Linked DNA regions of Homo sapiens: regions 1, 2, 3, 4, 5 and 6 are each linked to region 7. The links are contacts of gene promoters, found by promoter capture Hi-C in blood cells and fetal thymus (Javierre and others, 2016). All regions are on one chromosome and are shown on one strand. The core of a region is centred on a gene start or on the middle of the fragment in contact, and the rest is flanking DNA. Distances in the headings are between cores, read along the strand shown. Region 1 overlaps MAGEE1 (MAGE family member E1). Region 2 holds the start of TAF1 (TATA-box binding protein associated factor 1). Region 3 overlaps ERCC6L (ERCC excision repair 6 like, spindle assembly checkpoint helicase). Region 4 holds the start of RPS4X (ribosomal protein S4 X-linked). Region 5 has its middle 6.9 kb from the start of PIN4. Region 6 holds the start of OGT (O-linked N-acetylglucosamine (GlcNAc) transferase). Region 7 holds the start of FTX (FTX transcript, XIST regulator).

Region 1 (2,700 bases), core at 110-2,609, 2.1 Mb before region 7:
CTGTTGAACCCAAAACAACTCCCCAGTAAAATTTCTGCAAGGAAATCACTCACAGTCTCATTCCTGGAAAAAATCAACATGCAACAATATCACTTATATATTGCTAACTACATGTCAAGTGCTCTTGTGTTTTACATGTTAACACATTTAATCCCCAACATTATGGCGTAGGTGAAATTATTATGCCCATTTTACAGATGAAAAAATGGAGGCACAAAGGAGTTAAGTAACTTGCCTGAGTTCTCATCTCTAGTATCAGAGAGAGCCAGGGTTTGTACCCAGGCACTTTGACTCTAGACTACATGCTCTTACTACTATGTTCTAATGCCTTTTAACCTTGATACCACGGAGTTTGATTTCCAAGGTGTTTTTTAAAAGATAACAGGCTTTCTGACTTCAATTTCTTTAAATTTGATTTTGTTCAGAAAATAACACCTCTTTTCATAGGTACATTAAGAAGAAATTACTATGCTAAAATTAGAGTTTCTGCCCTCCCCACCCCCTTTAGTTTTTCAATATGAGAGCCAAAAGAATCCTGTCAAAACTAAGTGGTTTCCTGCCATCGCTCAGATCAAAAGCCTTAAATAGTTTTCCATCTCACTCACAACTAAAGCCAAATTCTTATATGGTAGACTAATTTTTTATTCAAAAATATATGTTCTTCCTCTCTACTGGGCCCATTCCTATATGTTCTTCCCTGTAGAAGGAGTACACTTCCCAGCTCATTGACATCAAGCTTGCCCATGTGACTTGCTTTTGCCAATGGATTATGACTACAATATGCCATATATGAGCATAGGCTTTGAAAACTATCACATGGTTCCACTATGGCTCTTTTACTTCTGCCACAAGAACAGGTGTCCCATATATGATTTACTCCTTTAGCCTGGTTACCTGAAGGAAGACAATATAAACAGAATCACAGACAGCCCATGAAAGGGATGTAAAATGAGCCCAAAATTTTGTTGTTGTAAGCCTCTGAGATTTGGGTATTTTTTAAAAACCCACAGCATAACTTAGAGAAAGCTGGCTCATGTATCTTATTGAAACCATTGATGACACAATATATCCTGCTCTCTGGCCTTACATCTTTGACTTTTTTTCCTACCAGCACACATAAAGACTGAAATCCAGCCTTGAATCAGTTTAATTCATGATTGTATTAGGGACCCCATCTTGGCTGGGCACGGTGGCTCACGCCTGTAATCTCAGCACTTTGGGAGGCTGAGGTGGACAGATCACGAGGTCAGGAGTTTGAGACCAGCCTGGCCAAAATAGTGAAACCCCGTCTCTACTAAAAATACAAAAATTAGCTGGGTGTGATGGCACTTGCCTGTAGTCCCAGCTACTCTGGAGGCTGAGGCAGGAGAATTTCTTGAACCCAGGAGGCAGAGGTTGCAGTGAGCCGAGATCATGCCACTGCACTCTAGCCTGGGCAACAGAGCGAGACTCTGTCTCAAAAAAAAAAAAAAAAAAAAAGACCCCATCTTGTCCCCACCCCACATACCCAACAGCTTCCTTAAGGACCACCCTGAACACCCCAGGAATTGGTCAGTTGTGCCTCTTTTTAACTACCATAGCACTCTCTATTTTTCTATTGTAGCACATAGTACACCATAATAAATTGGTGATTTAAATGACCTCCCCCTGTACCCTATCCAGCCTCTGAATTCTTGGGCAGGTACTATATCTTGTAAACTTTTATACTTCTATAACTAGGGCACACCACTGTGCTCACTGTATGAAAGCAGTTGAATAAGTCAGTGTATTAGCATTATGTTTCATTTATTAATCTTTTATTTTTCATTACATTTTAGTACAGCAAAGCAAATACAGGTAAACATCAGTATTCTTCATACAATAGCAGACAGAAAGGGAAGCCAGCCACAATTTAGAGTGCCTTTTCAGTTGTTGTTATATTTGTTTGTTAGTTTATCACTTTAAGCTAGATTATTTTACTGGCGAATTTTTTTCAAGCTTTCAAGGAAAAGCCTATATCTATAGCTATATGCTATATTCTTTTCTAGATAATGCAACAAGATGGAAAGATTTCCAAAACATTTTATAGAGCTATCAAAACTCATACCAAAATACAACAGAGACAGCAAGTGGTCAATCACATTTACCCAATCAGACAATATATTAAAACAGTTGAAACATTTCCAGACACCACACCAGAACTAAATATGAAAAGACATAAATATAACTGGAACACAAATACCAAATACAATATGTACCCACCCCCACCCCCCAATACATGAGAACTGAGGCTCAAAGGCCCCTCCTTGCAAGGCCCCTCTGACTGCCATGCATTCCTCTACCTGAAGTTGTGAACAAAGATTTGCCTGTGCCCAACATCAGCTCTATTGGCCTCATCTTCCATTGCCTCCCTGTACTGCTGTGGCCAGTCCTGTGGTTCCTTTCTGTGGATTCTGGCCACATATCGCAAGGCTTTCATCTTAGAGGTTTCCAAACGGGCTCTAGGACCCCATACAAACTCATATTGCACTGGATCACTGTCAGGAACCCGTAAACTGTCTATATAGCGCTGACTCAAGTATCTGCAGGTAATCACATGCTTTCTCCCAGCTTGAACCCCTAAGCCCCGCAGAAAGGCCCAGACTGCAGACTCCCTGGCATGGTTGCCCATAATAAAGATGAAGCTTAGGACCTGCATCAAAAAGTTGTTGCCAGGCCTGT
Region 2 (2,700 bases), core at 17-2,516, 2.9 Mb after region 7:
AGACTTCACCTTCATCATTTACCAAGGCACCGTCAGTCCCGGTCAATTCTTCATTTGCCGTGAGTTCAGTGATCAGGCTGCCCAGCCCCAAAGCCCCCAAGCCTGCCAAGTGCTTCTTACATTCCTGAAAAAGGGACAGCACGAGTCGAAGATAACAACTAAACCTACGACTCCCACACCACAGGACTTATTTCCCTGGTCCACGACAAAGTCACAAATCCACATGAAAAATGACTGTGCAGTGTGCCAAAACAAGCAACACGTTCGAGAACTGTAATATACATCTACCAAACTCCGCATCGATCAGATCTTTATTAAAGCACCACAGCCAACTGCATCGCCCACACTTTAAAGTATACTACAAGAGAAGACGAATCAAATAACTACTGCCAAGACTGAATGAATGGAACGGTCGTTCTCGGAACGAGGGCCGAGGCAGGGGGATCAGTGGGATTGGAGGCGTCGAGGCGGGGCTCGTTCGGTCCCTGTTTCGCATGCGCCTGCGGCACAGGAGGGGCCACAGCGGCCGACAGCTTCACTCCTCAAGAAAACGGGCCTAAGTGAAGGCAGGGTAGTTTCACTAGGGCGCAGGACACTATTTCACGAAAGTCAGTGAAGACGCTGGGAGAGCCACCTAAAAGGCGCACTGTGACCAGGAGGCCCGCTCGGGTGCTAGGAACACCCCATTGTCCTAAGCCTGAGGCCGGAACCAAACGAGCGGGAGGCAGGTCCTGTCCAGTCCTCTGGCTCTATAGAGCCATCTCAGGGCAGCGATGTCAGAGGGGCAGGCAGTGTCAAGAATCTCCAAGCAGGTTACGGGTGGGAAGCCATCTCAGTAGGCGAAACCAGCATGTGTCCTACTGTCTGGTCGGCAGAGCGCTAGCTCCAAAGCCACTATTCCCTGCGCCCCTGGCCCCGGGCTCGCCTCGCGCTCTCTTCTGCCCACTCTCCCCCAGAACGATCACTCCCACGCCACGTTGCTCCCGCACCCATGAGGACGGGATCCTCCTCCCCGGCGTTAGCTGCGCCCTGTTCTCGCTGCCTGAGCACCCTCTCCTTTCCTCCCCGCACCTCCTTCCTCTGCTTAGCCCCACCCCCCGAGCCCTACCCCCACGCCCACCCCCTCACATCATCCAAGACGCTTTCCCCCTCCAGCTGCCCGGCTCCATTGATGTTGCCGAAAAGGAAACCCGCTAAAGAAAATGGGCCGCCTCCAGCGGAATCTTCGTCGCTGTCCGTGTCTGACATGATGGCGGCAGCAGTGATGGTAGCTGCTGTCCGCAGCAGCAAATCGCAGCCGGGTCCCATAGACCGGAAATAAAACAACAGTCGCCCAGAAGTGACTTACTGAGCTCCCTTACCCTACCAGCCTCTACCGGAAGCTCAAAACAGAGGGGAAAGGGAGGGGGAAGTGGGGAGAGGGGAGGGGGAAGGGGGGGAAAACCCGGAAAGACCGGCTATCCTAAGAGAAAGAAGTAACTACTTTACTAACGGCTTTTGATTCGACGCTACGGGATCAGGAGGATGGATATGTGGAAAGCGGTTGGTCAAAGAAAATATTCAGTCCCGCCCGCTCCCACTGCTCCGCGCGCGAGCTTTCTCACGGCACCGAATTAGAGCAGTGGCTCTTCCTCCAATCAGAAGGAGCTGCTCGAGTCACGTGGCTTACGCGCAGGCAACCTCGGGTTCCTGTACCACAATACCCGGAAGTAAGGGTAAGAGCCGGTCTTTGTGCTGCGTGCAATTTCACCGGTCCGTCCCAAGGAGAGACTTGACGTAAATTATACAGGCATTCCCGAGCTATGCAGGTTACTTGTTTTGAGTTGACATTTTTCCCTAGAAATTGATTTTTTGACCGGACGCGGTGGCTTACGCCTGTAATTCCAGCACTTTGAGAGGCCGAGGTGGGAGGATCGCTTGAGCCCACGAGTATGAGGCCAGCCTGGACAAGAAAGCGAGACTCCATCCATACACAAAATCAAAAAAATTAGCCAGATGTGGTGGCCAGTGCCTGTAGTCCCAGCTGTTGGGGGGTCTGAGGTGGGAGCCAGGAGTTGGAGTCTGCAGTGACCTGTGATCGGGCCACTGCACTCCAGCCCGCCTCAAAAAAAATACTTGTTCCCCCAACGTTTTATTTCGGAAAATGTGAAAGTTTAGTAAAATGAACAGCTGACCCCTCACCTAGACTCACAATGGTTAACATTTTGCTAGGATTTTTGTTTTTCTAAACCATTTATGGGCATCTTGTTCTTCACTCCTAAAAATAAGCATCTTAACTATGGAACCAAAGTACCTTTATCACAACTTTAGGAAGTAAGTCAATATTATTTAAGGAAGAGTCCGCACTTAAATTTCCCCAGTTGTCCTAGTTGGAACATTTTACGGGGTTTCGTCATGTTGCACAGGCTGGTCTCAGACTCCTGGGCTCAAGCAATCTGCCCGTTTCAGCCTCCCAAAGTGCTGGGATTGCAGCCATGAGCCAACACCCCGGCTTTCACCTTGCTTTTTTCACATATTATGATAATATAGACTGAAATAATTTCTTTACCACATCATAGCACTCTTCCTCATTCTCCCTTTTTTCCAATACTAGGATCCATTCACGTTTCATGCATTGTATTTGGTCATCTTCCTTTAGTCCAGAATCACCTGCCTTCTTGTTTGTTTTTCATGACACTAAATATTTGGAAGAATCCAGGC
Region 3 (2,700 bases), core at 28-2,527, 2.1 Mb after region 7:
GTATGGCCTCTGGAAGCTGGAAAAGCAAGAAGCACATTCTCCCCCTAGAGCCTCCAGAAAGGAACACAGCCTTGCTGCAACCTTAATTTTAGCCCAGTGAGACCTGTGTCAGACTTCTAACCTATATAACCTGCAAGATATAACCTGTAAGATAAAAGATAATACTTTGTGTTGTTTTAACATTTGTGATGATTTGTAACGGCAGCAATAGGAAACTAATACATTTTGCTAAATCCAACTCTGGCCCTCTCAGATGAACATGGTTGAAGAAACAATCATGTGACTGGTCTTACTTGAAATCCATCAATATCGATGTCAAGCAGGCCCTTCATGCTGCCTGGCAATCATAGTACATTTCTCTAATGTATTCACTCATCCATTGTACTAGATGCCTGTTTCATGCCTTCTTGCTTTTCAGACCCTCAACATCTCACCCTCATCTCTCTTGCTTCCAATTTCACTGGGTTGATAGAAGCAATCAGAAGACAGTTTCCAGAAGCTTCTTCCATATCAACCTACTTCCCAGCATTATTCCCTCTGTGTTCTTTGCCTTCTGTCCTGTTAGTATGGATGAACTCTCCATGCTTCTAGCTAAGGCACAACCCCTCCATTTGTGCAAAAGATCTCATCCCTTGTCACTCACTGGTATAAGGACTTCAGCCCACCAATTCTTTCATTGTTAAAAAAAAAAATCCTCTCTTGATCCTATTTTCATTTCCAGTTATTGCTCCATTTCTTCTCTTTCCTTTACAGCAAAATTCCAGGTGTCATATCATTGTCTACACTTGTCATTTCCTATTTCTTTTCTCCTAACTTCTGTTGAACTCGTCCCAATCAGGTTTTCACCCCATCACTTTACACAAACTGCTTTTATCAAAGTCACCAATGACATTCATATAACTAAATCCAACAGTCAATTCTCAATCTTCATCTACCTCGACCAGTAGTACTTGACGAAGTTAATCACTTCTCCATGAAACACATGATTCATTAGTCTTCCAAGGAGCCCTTGCTCTCCGGATTTTCTTCTTACTTCACTGACTGCTGCTTCAGATTCTGTTGATATTCCTCCTCATATCTTCTAAGATAATTTAAATCCCCAGATATGACATTTCACGCTGAAATACTTAAGTATATATTCCTTAAAAAGAACATATTCTTTTTTTTTTTTGAGACGGAGTCTTGCTCTGTTGCCCAGGCTGGAGTGCAGTGGCGCAATCTCAGCTCACTGCAACCTCTGCCTCCCAGGTTCAAGTGATTCTCTGCCTCAGCCTCCCAAGTAGCTGGGATTACAGGCACCTGCTACCACGCCAGGCTAATTATTGTATTTTTAGTATGGGGTTTCACCATGTTGGCCAGGCTGGCCTCAAACTCCTGGCCTCAGGTGATTCACCTGCCTCAGCCTCCCAAAGTGCTGGGATTACAGGCATGAGCCCCCTTGCCCGGTCAAAAAAAAAACCATATTCTTACAAAACCACCATGCCATATCACACCTAACAAAATAAATGAATTCATTGATATTATCTAATACATAGTCCATATTCAAATTTTTTTTTTTTGAGACGGAGTCTTGCAGTGTCATCCGGGCTGGAGTGTGGTGGCGCAATCTCGGCTCACTGTAAACTTCGCCTCCTGGGTTCAAGTGATTCTCCTGCCTCAGCCTCCCGAGTAGCTGGGATTACAGGCACCCACCACCATGCCCAGCTAATTTTTTGTATTTTTAGTAGAGACAGGGTTTCACCATGTTGGCCAGGCTGGTCCTGAACTCCTGACCAGTGATTCGCCTGCCTCGGCCTCCCAAAGTGCTGTGATTACAGGCGTGAGCTACCATGCCCAGCCTCAAATTTTTGAATGGTTTATCAGGATCCAAAGAAGGTCTACAACTTCATTTGGGTTTTATGTTTCTTGAACTTCTAATCTAGAACAGTTCTCCCCTCCCCTCCACTTTTATTTCTATGACAATGATTTGAATTAGTGTGATGTCTTCCTTGTAGTGTCATTAGTTTGTTCTGTCTCCTATAATTTAAACTAAAGGCTTGATAAGATTAAGCTTCAATATTTTTGGCATGAATACTTTATAGGGAAGGCTGTGTAGCTATATTGTGTCATATCAGGAAGTATATAACATCTGACTTTCCTACTTTCAATAATGCTATTGAAAGGTTGATCAATGGGTTCAGTGATTACAATCTGATTCCTCCTTTGCAAAGTTGCATTTCCCCCTTATGATGAGGAAGTAATACGTTCAGGATAGCTTAGTATTCTGTGAATATCCAGTTCCCCACCAACCCATCAGGCTTTCAACCATTGATAATTATTGCTCAAATCAGTTTTTTTTTTTAAAGAGATGGGGTCTCCCTATGTTGCCCAGGCTGGTCTTGAACTCCTAGTCTCAAGCGATCCACCTGCCTCAGCCTCCCAAAGTGTCAAATCAGTTATTAGAGATTACAAAGTGGTGATTTTCTTTTCTGAGACGGAGTTTCGCTCTTGTTGCCCAAGCTGGAGTACAATGACGCGATCTCAGCTCACTGCAACCTCCACCTCCCGGGTTCAAGTGATTCTCCTGCCTCAGCCTCCTGAGTAGCTGGGATTACAGGTGGGTGCCACCACACCCGGCTAATTTTTTGTGTTTTTAGTAGAAACGGGGTTTCGTCATGTTAGCCAGGCTGGTCTCCAACTCTTGACTTCAGGTGATCTGCC
Region 4 (2,700 bases), core at 20-2,519, 2.0 Mb after region 7:
CCAGCCTAGGTAACATGGCGAAACCCCGTCTCTACAAAAAAATAAAACTACAAAAAATTAGTTGGGTGCAGTGGCGTGCGCCTGTTGTCCCAGCTACTCGTGGGGGCTGAAGTGAGAGGATCGCTTGAGCCCGGGCTGTCTGTCGAGGCTGCAGTGAGCCATGCACTACAGCCTGGGTGACAGAGTGAGACCCTGTCTCCCAAACAAACAAACAAAAAGAGCTGACTCCCTCGGAACAAACTAGCTTGGTGGGGCTTGAGCTTTGAAGTTTGGGATTGGGGAGAGAGAGCAATGGAGCCAGATAAAGTTCAGACCTGCTCCCTTACGGCAGGAAACAGAGGGCCAAGGGCAGTTTCGAAGCAGGATCAGATCTACATTTTAGTTAGATATAACCAGACGATTTCTAATATCCTCTCTCCTCCCTGAGTCTCTATAAGTGCCAAATGCGTTGTACAGGAAGCAAGGGGGAGGATGTCAGAGTTCAAGCAGAGAAGCAAGAGGGGGTTAAAAACGTTGTTGGCTCTTCCCAACTCAGTATGGGCTGCCTGGCTGGCTCAAGGGAACACAAAAAAGGGACAGACAAAATACGTTTAAGAAATAACATTAAATATTTATTAAAATGTATTCTATTGATTATATACAAGTTCTTTGTTTTGTTTTGTTTTGTTTTGTTTTTGAGACGGAGTCTCGCTCTGTCGCCCAGGCTGGAGTGCAGTGGCGCGATCTCGGCTCACTGCAAGCTCCACCTCCGGGGTTCACGCCATTCTCCTGCCTCAGCTTCCCGAGTAGCTGGGACTACAGGCGCCCGCCACTATGCCCGGCTAATTTTTTTGTATTTTTTTTTAGTATAGACGGGGTTTCACTGTGTTAGCCAGGATGGTCTCGATCTCCTGACCTCATGATCCGCCCGCCTCGGCCTCCCAAAGTGCTGGGATTACAGGCGTAGAATCATCTGTACGTGAGACTGGAAGTAAGCTCACTTTGAACTCTCCTTGAGGCCAGGGATGTTGTGTAGCTCATCTTTGTATTCCCAGCACCTAGCACAGAATAAGGCACACAAGAGGCGCTCAGCAAATATGGGAGGAGGAAGGGCGGAAAAAGGGGAGGGAGGAAATCGCCCTTAGGAGACACCCTCTTTCCGCGGCGGTTCCTCAACTCGGGACTTCTGACCTCCCACCAGCAGATGGCAAGAAAGAGTCCCGGCGCGCCAGCAAAGGGCTGAGCTGGGCGGAGCAGCTGAAAATCCGGCGCGCGCAGTCTCCAGCCCCAATTTCTACGCGCACCGGAAGACGGAGGTCCTCTTTCCTTGCCTAACGCAGCCATGGTAAGCCGTTTAGTTAGCGAGCTCTTAGGACGTATCCGCCTCCATCCTCCCCCGGCCGGGGCTGCCCGAGGTTTCGGGATTCCTACTGGGGATGGCCGGGCAGAGGCGAAGGGATCACGGCCTCCGTGGTAGGCCGGGACGGGCTCCAGGGCGAAGGGCGAACGCTGGCCTAGGGTTGGGGAGGCGCAGATCTGGTGCTGCTGTTGGGAAGGCCTCGGTTTCTGACCCGGCCATACGTCCTGATCCCGGGAGAAGCTGCTTTTCCTCCCGGGCCGGAGCCGCGGCTGGGCCAGGAGCTCAGACTGCGAGCCCGAGGTTGGTGGGCGCTGGGGGTGCCCGGCGGAGAAAGGTTTTCTTTGTCATTGCCTTTTTGGCACGGCCTGACTTTACCATACGTGGCCGGTAAGCATCTGGACACAGCATTAAAAAGGCTTCCTTACTCTTTTTAAAGTAAAATTGGTGTCAGCTTTTGGCTTTAGTGTACGAAGGAGCAGCACATGTGTTTGTGCGGATGTCAGAATCTTGTTCCATACGTGTCAAAAACAGACGGTAATAAATTGTGAAAACTTTAGAAACACAGGTAGACTCCTGGCTCATTTCTGTTGCTGTGCGTTTCACTAGTATGGTGTTCTTGAAAGACCCTAACCTCTAAGCAGATACAGTTTCAAACAGTAACATGGAAACACTTTAGCAAGGTTCTGAAAGATAGTAATCAGTAAACGTTCTGAAACATAGTAACCAAGAATATTCTCTGTTACAATAAGAAGGCTTGTTGCAGCTTATGGATCTCACGGTGTTTGTTAAATAACTGTGTTTGTTTCTGTTTTATCGGAACACTATACTTTAATATTGTCCACATTTTGCTGAAGATGAAACTAAACTAAGAGTTTAGTTTCACACTAGGTTTTATAAGCTGTTCTGAAACCTGATTAACAGCATTGCAATCTAAAACTTTCAGGCTCGTGGTCCCAAGAAGCATCTGAAGCGGGTGGCAGCTCCAAAGCATTGGATGCTGGATAAATTGACCGGTGTGTTTGTAAGTATCTTATATAAATATTTCCGTGGCCACTGTTTTTAAGTGTCTCCCAGGACTCATTTGGGGACCAGGCTAGGGGAGGAATATCTATTCTTGGCTTCCTCTGCCCTTGAAGGAGCTATACTATCTAGCTGTCCTCCACTTCCAATCGATTTAATATTTTTGTGCCTCATTTATTCCACATACCACATAGTACATTTACATGGACTCAGGATTCATGTTCTTAATGATCCTGGTCCTCTGACAGGGAAGATGCTATAAAACTTTAAGGTATGAAATAGTTTTGGATGCTTTTTACACCTCCTGTGTAAAAGTCCAAGTTGGGTGTAATATGGACGGT
Region 5 (2,700 bases), core at 121-2,620, 2.1 Mb after region 7:
AGGGATCACCACACTGTCTTCCACAATGGTCAAACCAATTTACACTCCCACCAACAGTGTAAAAGCCTTCCTATTTCTCCACATTCTCTCCAGCATCTGTTGTTTCCTGACTTTTTAATGATTGCCATTCTAACTGGCATGAGATGGTATCTCGTTGTGGTTTTGATTTGCATTTCTCTGATGACCAGTGATGATGAGCGTTTTTTCATGTGTCTGTGGGCTGCATAGATGTCTTCTTTTGAGAAGTGTCTGTTCATACCATTTGCCGACTTTTTGATGGGGTTGTTTTTTTTTTCTTGTAAATTCGTTTTGAGTTCTTTGTAGATTCTAGATATTAGCCCTTTGTCAGATGGGTAGATCGCAAAGATTTTCTCCTATTCTGTAGGTTGCCTGTTCATTCTGGTGGTAGTTTCTTTTGCCGTGCAGAAGCTCTTTAGTTTAACTAGATCCCATTTGTCTATTTTGGCTTTTGTTGTCTTTGCTTTTGGTGTTTTAGTCATGAAGTCCTTGCCCATGCCTATGGCCTGAATGGTATTGCCTAGGTTTTCTTTTAGGGTTTTATGGTTTTGTGTCTAACATTTAAGTCTTTAATCCATCTTGAATTAATTTTTGTATAAGGTGTAAGGAAGGGATCCAGTTTCAACTTTCTACATATTAGGCTAGCCAGTTTTCCCAGCACCATTTATTAAATAGGGAATCCTTTCCCCATTTCTTGTTTTTGTCAGGTTTGTCAAAGATCCGATGGTTGTAGATGTGTGGTATTATTTCTGAGGCCTCTGTTCTGTTCCATTGGTCTATATATCTGTTTTGGTACCAGTATCATGCTGTTTTGGTTCCTGTAGCCTTGTAGTACAGTTTGAAGTCAGGTAGCATGATGAGTGGCCAAAGAATTTTCTAACCCACTTCATACTAGGTAATGAAGCTTTAAGTGACTGGTTTTTCAAAAAGGACTTCAGAGAAGAAGGCTCCATCTGTGTTTGTCCAGCATTATCTAAGCAAAAGAACTACAGTTTCTGGAAGACCTTACTATACCAGTATCTCATGAGGTAGATTTTGTTTTTTAGAGGCAGTGTTCACTTAAGACAGTGGAAAACAACCAACACAAATTGCACACGTACTATGAGCCAGGAGCTTTCCCTTCGTGATCTCTTTTAGAGTTCACAACAGCCTTATTTGGAAAATATTACTATTGCCATCTTTTTTTATTTTTATTTTTTCGAGACAGAGTTTCGCCCTGTCACCCAGGATGGAGTGCAGTGGCACAATCTCGGCTCACTGCAACCTCCGCCTCCTAGATTCAAGCAATTCTCCTGCCTCCACCTCCCGAGTAGCTGGGACTACTGGTGCCTGCTACGATGCCTGGCTAATTTTTGTAGTTTTAGTAGAGACAAGGTTTCACCATGTTGACCAGGCTGGTCTCAAACTCCTGACCTCAAGTGATCCGCCTGCCTCGGCCTCCCAAAGTTCTAGGATTACAGGTGTGACCCACCCCACCCAGCTCTATTACCACCTTAAAGCTGAAGAAATAGGGTCAGAGAAGTTAAGAAATGTGCCCCAAGTTTCACAGCTAGCTAGGGTCTGTGGTAAGGTTGGGCAACGAACTCGTCTGTCTGACTTCCAAGTTGGTACCCTCTCCATGATGCCATGCTACTCCAGGCTTTGCCATCCCCTAAATGAAATCTAAGAACATCCAGTTCTCTTTTTTCTGAGAGCATGTTCACCAAATCAGCCCTCCAGGGACCTTGAGGCATTTAGGGACACTGTGCAAGAGGCCACAGGGTCAAGTTATACCCCCAACATGGGACATAAATAAGCTTTGGTTTATGCATCAGTATGTTATTATGAGTAACCTGGAATGTGCTCTCCTCTGCCTGCGGTGCTGGACCTTCCAGGCTGCAGAAGCACAGAGGCAAGGAGAAGGAACATAGTATGGGTGGGGGACAGTGGGCAGGGTACTGTAGACAAGGAAGAGGGGAGCTGCTGGGGAAGAGGTCTTCTGCATCCTCAGCCTTGGGCACTGGTCTCCATGTTCAGTGGATTCTGCCTCCTAAACAACACTTCTCCCTGCCCCCCATAATTTTATGGTGAACAGTGAACATTTTGCTAGATTTGCTTTATCACATATTCACCCATCAATTTTTCTTATTTTTGTTGCATTTCAAAGCAAGTTACAGACATCAGCACACTCCATCCCTAAACACTTCAGTTGTCATAATGTTAACTAGGAGTCACTAATTACCTCTGGCTTGTCCCCTGCCCTCCCCGCCACTGCCATAGCCTTCTGCATATTCTCTAGACCATCGGAACATTGATCCCTCTGCTGCCAGTTTCACCTTCTCTTCAAACTACCTTCTGCGGCATCTCAGAGGGAGCTCTTAGAAACACAGAACTGATACTGTGACTCTCCCAGTTAAGACCCTTCAGTGACTCCCCATTGTCTGATAGGACACTATCTCACTTTGTAACCTGGAGGCCCAGGGCCCATTATACTGACATCTGCAGCCTCATTTCTTGCTAGTCTCCACTGGGCGCAACCATATAAAGTTACTATTTACAGGCCCTATCTTAAGACTCCATGCTGATCTCTCTCCCTGGAATGCTTTCCCTTATTTTTGATCTGGCTAATTCTTATTTACCTTTCAAGACTGAGCTCAGATGATACCTCCTTCCTGGAAGCCTTCCCTGACTCTCTTCTTTTTC
Region 6 (2,700 bases), core at 79-2,578, 2.8 Mb after region 7:
TATGGAAAGGCAGCTGAAGGACACTCCTACAATTTGGTTGTTTTCGTATTTTCAGTACCAAATGCTCGCGACTGAAGTGTCTAAAAGGGCAACCGCCTTGTACTTGTGCAGCTACACTCCAGTTGCTTTACAAACTCTTCAAGCAGGGATGGAAACTTAAAAGAATATTACACCCTGTGAATAAAGAGATACTGGGCTGAAGAATGGGGATGGCAGACCCAGAGGCGGCGGCGGAGGAATACATCGAGAAAGTAACACAAAGCGAGAATTGGGCGGGCAGGGTGGTCAACGCCAAAGCAGCAGCATCGGGGTGGTTTCTCCCCCAAGGATAGGAAGTGAACAGGGCTGGCAACCTCGCGAAGGGAAGGGTGTGGTTCCCCGCGGACAGGGTGGGAAATCCAGGCTGAGGGCAGCGGTGGAATTGGGCGATGGCAAAGGAAACCCCTGGAAATTTCCAATCTAAACCGGGACCGCTCAACCGAAAGAACACCAGAAAGGCACTGCCTAGCAGGGTGCTGCTCAATGTCCCCTCTTCTCGAGGTGACTTGTGGCACCATCGACGAGCTTTTGATCGTCCTCGGGTGATGCAAAGTGAGGATATGATTACATCGGAACGGCACCCCCGCCCTAGATTGGCAGAGAAGGACCAAATCTGGCTAAGGGGAAAAGACTGGGGGGGGAGATGAAGGAGGAGATGGAGGGGAAAAAGGAGAGGCGATGAGCTGGAATTAGGGGAGAAAACCGCTGCAAAGGAGTGAAAGGGCAGGGATTCCAATGCAGTCCATTCCACGACATTCTAAGCGCGCACGTGTGATAAAAGCGCCTGGAGAGAGTGGAATGCTAGAACATTTACGAAATAAAAACAAAGCAAGAAAGGCAGCAAAAAGCAAGCAAGGGAGGAGGAGGAAATGTTCGGGAAGCGGACAACAGCGGAAAACCCGATGTGATCAGATGCCAGTAGACCACGAAAAGCTTAGCAATGTCACTGATGTAATGGGGATGGTTCGAGGGAAGGGAGGGAAGGAGTGATACAAGGTAGAGGACGGCGCGAGACCCCAAGGGGGCATCTGCCAAGGTAGAACGGGACACCGGTACCTGTGCTGTCGGCCACGTTGCCCACGGAAGACGCCATCTGGAGCTTCTCGAGGGAGAGCAAAAAAGAGGTAATTGGTCCTGCTGCCGCCACTACCAGCAAGAACGTATTTGGAGGTAGTAGTACAAGGGCAGCAGCCGTAGCAATGCTCTGGAGGGCTTGAGCGGCGGCAGCAGTTACAGGCTTCAAACCCTGGGAACTCTAATTGACCATCTACCTAGTACGGTCTTGAAATGGCGGCGACGGCTCCTCGGCCGAAACAACATGGGCCGGAACTACTTTCTGTTACAATCAAGTGCCCGCGCGGAGGTAGCCGGTAACCAGCGCCGCCAACAAAATGACTTCAAGCTGCAAAGTCGAGATTCCATGTAGTCCTCCGCGCAGCGCCCATTGCGACAAACACCACGGTGGAGACCGCGCATGCGAGCAGCCCTGTCAACCCGACTCGTGGTTAGGGCACTCTCTGGGGCGGAAGCGGCCAAGTTTCTTAAGAGTGTAGCGGAAGGGTAAAAACAAACACACACGGGACGGATACGTTTTTGCCACCGCGATTAAGAAGAGTGTTTGTTACTTAGCAGGTGGTGTCGTTTTAAACATAAATGCCAAAGGCGTCTAAAAAAGTTTATCAACTGTATTCGTACAAAAACGGATGGTTACGACTCTCACGGATCAATTCTGAGCCAGTCAATTCAGAAGATTGCCTCTCAAAGACAGCTGCTCAAAACGAGGAGCGAGAGGGTTCCGATTTGAGCCCGTCTTCATTGTGACTCGGCCATCGATTTCAGCACTTCGATGAAAAAGACTGAAGCTTTCACAGGGCCAGTTGAATGCAGACACCTTCAATGTTGGCCGTATAGCCTGAAATTTCAAAATCGTTTTGGTATTCAGAATACTCCTGCCCACGGTGATAGGGCAAATGTTTAATAACTCAGGGACATGCTGGGCGTTTGCACTCCGAAGGCAGCCATAAAAATGTTAAAGGTGATTCACGTTCGTCAAAATCCATGACTCTCCTCGAGTTGTGACTTCATTTCCACCAGCTAGCTCTGCACATTGTCACAGTCGGCGATTCCACTGAGCTCAAAGCAGATCAACAATGATAAATGAATTCACTTGCCATCTGCCTAAACCACACGTCTAGATTGAGTCATGAATTGCCTCTACTTCCTTGAACAAATCGGTTCTTACGATCTTCCTGCAGTTTCAAGTCTACTGTTCAGACATTTTGTCACATTGGTATTTATACTTCACCTCTTGTTCTAGAAACGACTTAAGGTAGCTTGCCACATCAGCAAGAAAGTATTACAAGCCACTGGAGGCTACAAGTTGGATCTCTGAGAGCCTTTTTATTTCAAAAAGTCCTTGATCTAAGAAAGCAGGTCAATGAATTTCTTCAAAAAGTTTTTGCTACCTAGCCCCTTCACTACATTTTTTAAAACTAAGTCCTCAAATTCTGCTTAAATTTCTTCAAAACAGTCAACAAACAATTAATTATGGAAATGGCACAGAGAAAATTCATAATGCTAATTTCTTCCATCCCATAATCAAGAGTCACATCATGCAGTGAAAAAGACAAAAATCACTACACAAACTCTCCTGAAAATTGA
Region 7 (2,700 bases), core at 63-2,562:
TTTTGGGCGTATTATATAACAAATGCAAACCCATTTTTCTCTGAATAATGTTGATATAACATTCTTAAGTTAATTTGAGAGGATGGTGATGTATAAGTTTATGAGTTTTAGGATTTATGAATTTGCGGGTCTCAGTTTTTGGTATTTCCAAACTGGCTCTTTTAGAAAGCAATAAGAACCAGACACCAAAGTAAAACATAATAAAGAGAAACAAAATATTATTTTGTATTCTTTCTAGTTCACACCCAAAGAGGGATCTATTTCAGAGCCTCTTAAGTAAATAATGCCATTTCCCTCAAAATTAATATTTGAGTTCTTACAGAAGACAAGAACAGGCCTTGTAGTAAGCAGTGAAGGACATTGAATCTCATTTTTAATGTCCAGACAATACCAGGGTTGTGAATAGAAAGAAAAGAGCTTTCCATGTTGGTGGTCTACTGCCTCTTACCCCCAAATTGATTGAACACTTTTGCAGTTTTTGTTCTGGTTCCCTGTCTCTGGATCTTCCCTGTGGGTCATCATCAAAAAGGTGTTCTCTTTGCCCAAGACAGGCTGGTTGAGCTCACCCTGAGAGCTGCTTTGGAGAGGATGTGTGGAAATATTTTTTTTCTTTTTTTGAGATGGGGTCTCACTCTGTTGCCCAGGCTGGCAACATCATAGCTGGCACAATCATAGCTCACTGTAGCCTCGACTTCCTGGGCTCGAGTGATTCTTCCACCTCAGCCTTCTGAATAGCTGGGAGTACAGGTGCGCACCACCACGCCCGGCTAATTTTTGTATTTATTTGTAGAGACGGGGTTTCGCCATGTCACCCGAGCTGGTCTCGAACTCCTGAACTCAAGGGTTCCGTCCACCTCGGCCTCCCAAAGTGCTGGGATTACAGGTGTGAGCCACCGCGCCCGGGCTACAATTATTTAAAAAAAAATTTTTGCGGTAATTTTTACAAATTTCAACATCAGGCATAGGAGGAGAGGAGTAAGAGGCCCAAGAGGGCTGCAGACTGGCAGGGAAAGTGAAGAATTGAAGGGTAGACCACTAACGATAGCAGAGGAAATAAAGGTAGATGGTGGGCTAAGAATAATGGGAGAGGGATTGACGAAAGAAGTATGGGCTGAGGGAGGGATGATGGTGGAGGCCAGTGTGACCGAGGGGAGGGGAAAGGTGGAAGAAGCAGAGTGGGATAGCGTCCTGGGAAAGAAGTGAAGGAGGTCGGTGGACCGCTAAGGGTTAGACTCCTAGAGGCTGGAGAGCGGCGCGTGGGGGAGGCGGGGCGCGGAGGGGGGGTTAAGGGGCGTTAGCAGCGCATGCGCTGGAAGCACACTGCGGCGATTCTGGAGAGGTTGTCCTTTTCTGGCATCAGCGTTGCGGCTCGAGGCAAAGCTGGTCCTGTGCCTGCTGTCCATTGCCGCTAAGGCCTGCTGCTGCCATTCAGGCGTGTCTCTCTCTCTCTCTCTCTTTCATGCCGCTCTCTCCACCCCATCTTGGGACGGCCAGCTCTAAGAATTCCTGCTACGACACTGAATTCAACCAGGAGGTAAAGGAACGATGTAGGGGAAGAACAGAACATGGAGGGCGGCGGAGGGAACTTGGGCCAGGAAGATCCTTAATTTGTGCATTTTTCCAGTTCACGGGAGGAAAAAATGGAATACGTTACAGGCCCCAGTTTTCCAAAAGGATGTTGAGCATTTGCTTCCCATTGTGAAAGGAATGCGGGTTCCTTTCCTCTAACTAGAGTCAAGGCACCTGAGCATCGGTGTTTTCCATAATGTTCCCTGTTTAAAACATTTGTGGTTCGTCATTTGTAGCAGATGTATTTAAAGGGCGAGGCCTTAGGATTATGTTCATCCGATGGTTTGTGAAAGTTTTCCTTGCCTTTGTTCAGGTTGACCGGTCTTATGTGAATCCTGGGGTACTCTAGCCCCCTCCCTTGGAGTTGGGACCGATTCCATCTAGATCTGGGATTCACTCTGATCACCTGCAACGCCTTCTTTCCCCGATTCAACTTCCCTAGTTTATCGCATCTACTCGCATTAGGGAAGGCTGGTAATGGCTCTCCTTGGGCACTGGGGCAGAATTGTGGCGAGAAACACGTCCAGATAGCATCAGGCATGCATACTGTATACAAATGGGAGCAAGAAGAGAGAGGACTATCGCGGTGCGCAGGGTATTTGAGAGGCTGGATGAGGAGGCGCGGCGCCGAGGGGCGGCGCTCAAGCTTACAGTATTTGAGAAGACCTGAGTTAAGGGGACGGGCTCCAGTGGGGCGGGGGTGGGGAGAGGGAGGCACGCATGCGCAAGGCTTGAATGGCGTCGGGGTTGGAGGGTTGGAAGGTCGGGAAGTGAAGGACTCGCAGGCATATTTAACAACGCAAAGTTGCTAGGAGTTGGTACCAGCGTTTGGGAGGTAGAGGTGGCGCTCATGCATATTTGAGACAACATCTGGATGGTTGGGGAGAACGGTAAGGAGGAAGCGGCGCGCATGCGTATTTCAGACGGAGTGCCGGGGAGGGGAGGCGCTCAGCATTCGGGTAATTAAGGTTGCAAAATGGCGAGGGGGGAGGTAAGCTGTCTTTGCTTGGCCATCTTGGGCTAGCAGGCCTTGCAGAGAACTACCTTTTTAGCTGAGTGAAGGGATCAACCTGAGTTGGAGTTCTCCTATGCTGTGGCCAGATCCACTAGAAATTAACCCAGAATCTTAGC

What was found. The method cuts DNA at HindIII sites, captures the fragments that hold promoters and counts their contacts. A CHiCAGO score of 5 or more calls a contact.
Region 1: a fragment that was not itself captured here is called in contact with the fragment with the promoter of FTX in region 7 in 2 of 17 cell types (activated CD4 T cells and naive CD4 T cells); the score reaches 8.0 in activated CD4 T cells.
Region 2: the fragment with the promoter of TAF1 here is called in contact with the fragment with the promoter of FTX in region 7 in 1 of 17 cell types (neutrophils); the score reaches 6.3 in neutrophils.
Region 3: a contact is called between a fragment that was not itself captured here and the fragment with the promoter of FTX in region 7, in 2 of 17 cell types (activated CD4 T cells and fetal thymus). The highest score is 5.4, in activated CD4 T cells.
Region 4: a contact is called between the fragment with the promoter of RPS4X here and the fragment with the promoter of FTX in region 7, in 3 of 17 cell types (total CD4 T cells, naive CD4 T cells and naive CD8 T cells). The highest score is 6.6, in total CD4 T cells.
Region 5: a fragment that was not itself captured here is called in contact with the fragment with the promoter of FTX in region 7 in 1 of 17 cell types (total B cells); the score reaches 5.9 in total B cells.
Region 6: the fragment with the promoter of OGT here is called in contact with the fragment with the promoter of FTX in region 7 in 1 of 17 cell types (fetal thymus); the score reaches 7.7 in fetal thymus.

The regions. Positions count from the first base shown.
Region 1 is chrX:76,430,422-76,433,121 of GRCh38, reverse strand. It overlaps MAGEE1 (MAGE family member E1), which reads right to left. Exons shown (of 1, transcript NM_020932.3): 1 at 1,780-2,700. The coding sequence ends at 2,318. Among named protein-coding and RNA genes, the nearest start is that of MAGEE1, 4.1 kb to the right of the region's middle. The HindIII fragment of the contact is 1,241 bases long and covers 739-1,979 here.
Region 2 is chrX:71,364,923-71,367,622 of GRCh38, reverse strand. TAF1 (TATA-box binding protein associated factor 1) reads right to left here and starts at 1,266. Exons shown (of 38, transcript NM_004606.5): 1 at 1,129-1,266; 2 at 10-124. The coding sequence starts at 1,248. RefSeq lists enhancers at 1-656, 1,175-1,224, 1,715-1,764, 1,933-2,502 and a silencer at 1,385-1,574. The HindIII fragment of the contact is 14,477 bases long and covers 1-2,700 here.
Region 3 is chrX:72,232,581-72,235,280 of GRCh38, reverse strand. The region is part of intron 1 of ERCC6L (ERCC excision repair 6 like, spindle assembly checkpoint helicase); the gene reads left to right. It also overlaps a transcript of PIN4 not described here. Among named protein-coding and RNA genes, the nearest start is that of ERCC6L, 5.1 kb to the left of the region's middle. The HindIII fragment of the contact is 1,551 bases long and covers 502-2,052 here.
Region 4 is chrX:72,275,817-72,278,516 of GRCh38, reverse strand. It overlaps RPS4X (ribosomal protein S4 X-linked), which reads left to right and starts at 1,269. Exons shown (of 7, transcript NM_001007.5): 1 at 1,269-1,324; 2 at 2,283-2,360. The coding sequence starts at 1,322. RefSeq lists enhancers at 1,450-1,519, 1,690-1,769. The HindIII fragment of the contact is 11,342 bases long and covers 1-2,700 here.
Region 5 is chrX:72,173,535-72,176,234 of GRCh38, reverse strand. No RefSeq gene overlaps it. Among named protein-coding and RNA genes, the nearest start is that of PIN4, 6.9 kb to the left of the region's middle. The HindIII fragment of the contact is 892 bases long and covers 925-1,816 here.
Region 6 is chrX:71,531,732-71,534,431 of GRCh38, reverse strand. OGT (O-linked N-acetylglucosamine (GlcNAc) transferase) reads right to left here and starts at 1,328. Exons shown (of 22, transcript NM_181672.3): 1 at 1,096-1,328. The coding sequence starts at 1,132. RefSeq lists enhancers at 754-1,412, 1,238-1,577, 1,078-2,277. The HindIII fragment of the contact is 929 bases long and covers 975-1,903 here.
Region 7 is chrX:74,292,186-74,294,885 of GRCh38, reverse strand. It overlaps FTX (FTX transcript, XIST regulator), which reads left to right and starts at 1,312. Exons shown (of 7, transcript NR_028379.1): 1 at 1,312-1,534. It overlaps LOC124905199 (a long non-coding RNA gene), which reads left to right and starts at 2,290. Exons shown (of 2, transcript XR_007068266.1): 1 at 2,290-2,700. RefSeq lists an enhancer at 2,058-2,700. The HindIII fragment of the contact is 8,135 bases long and covers 1-2,217 here.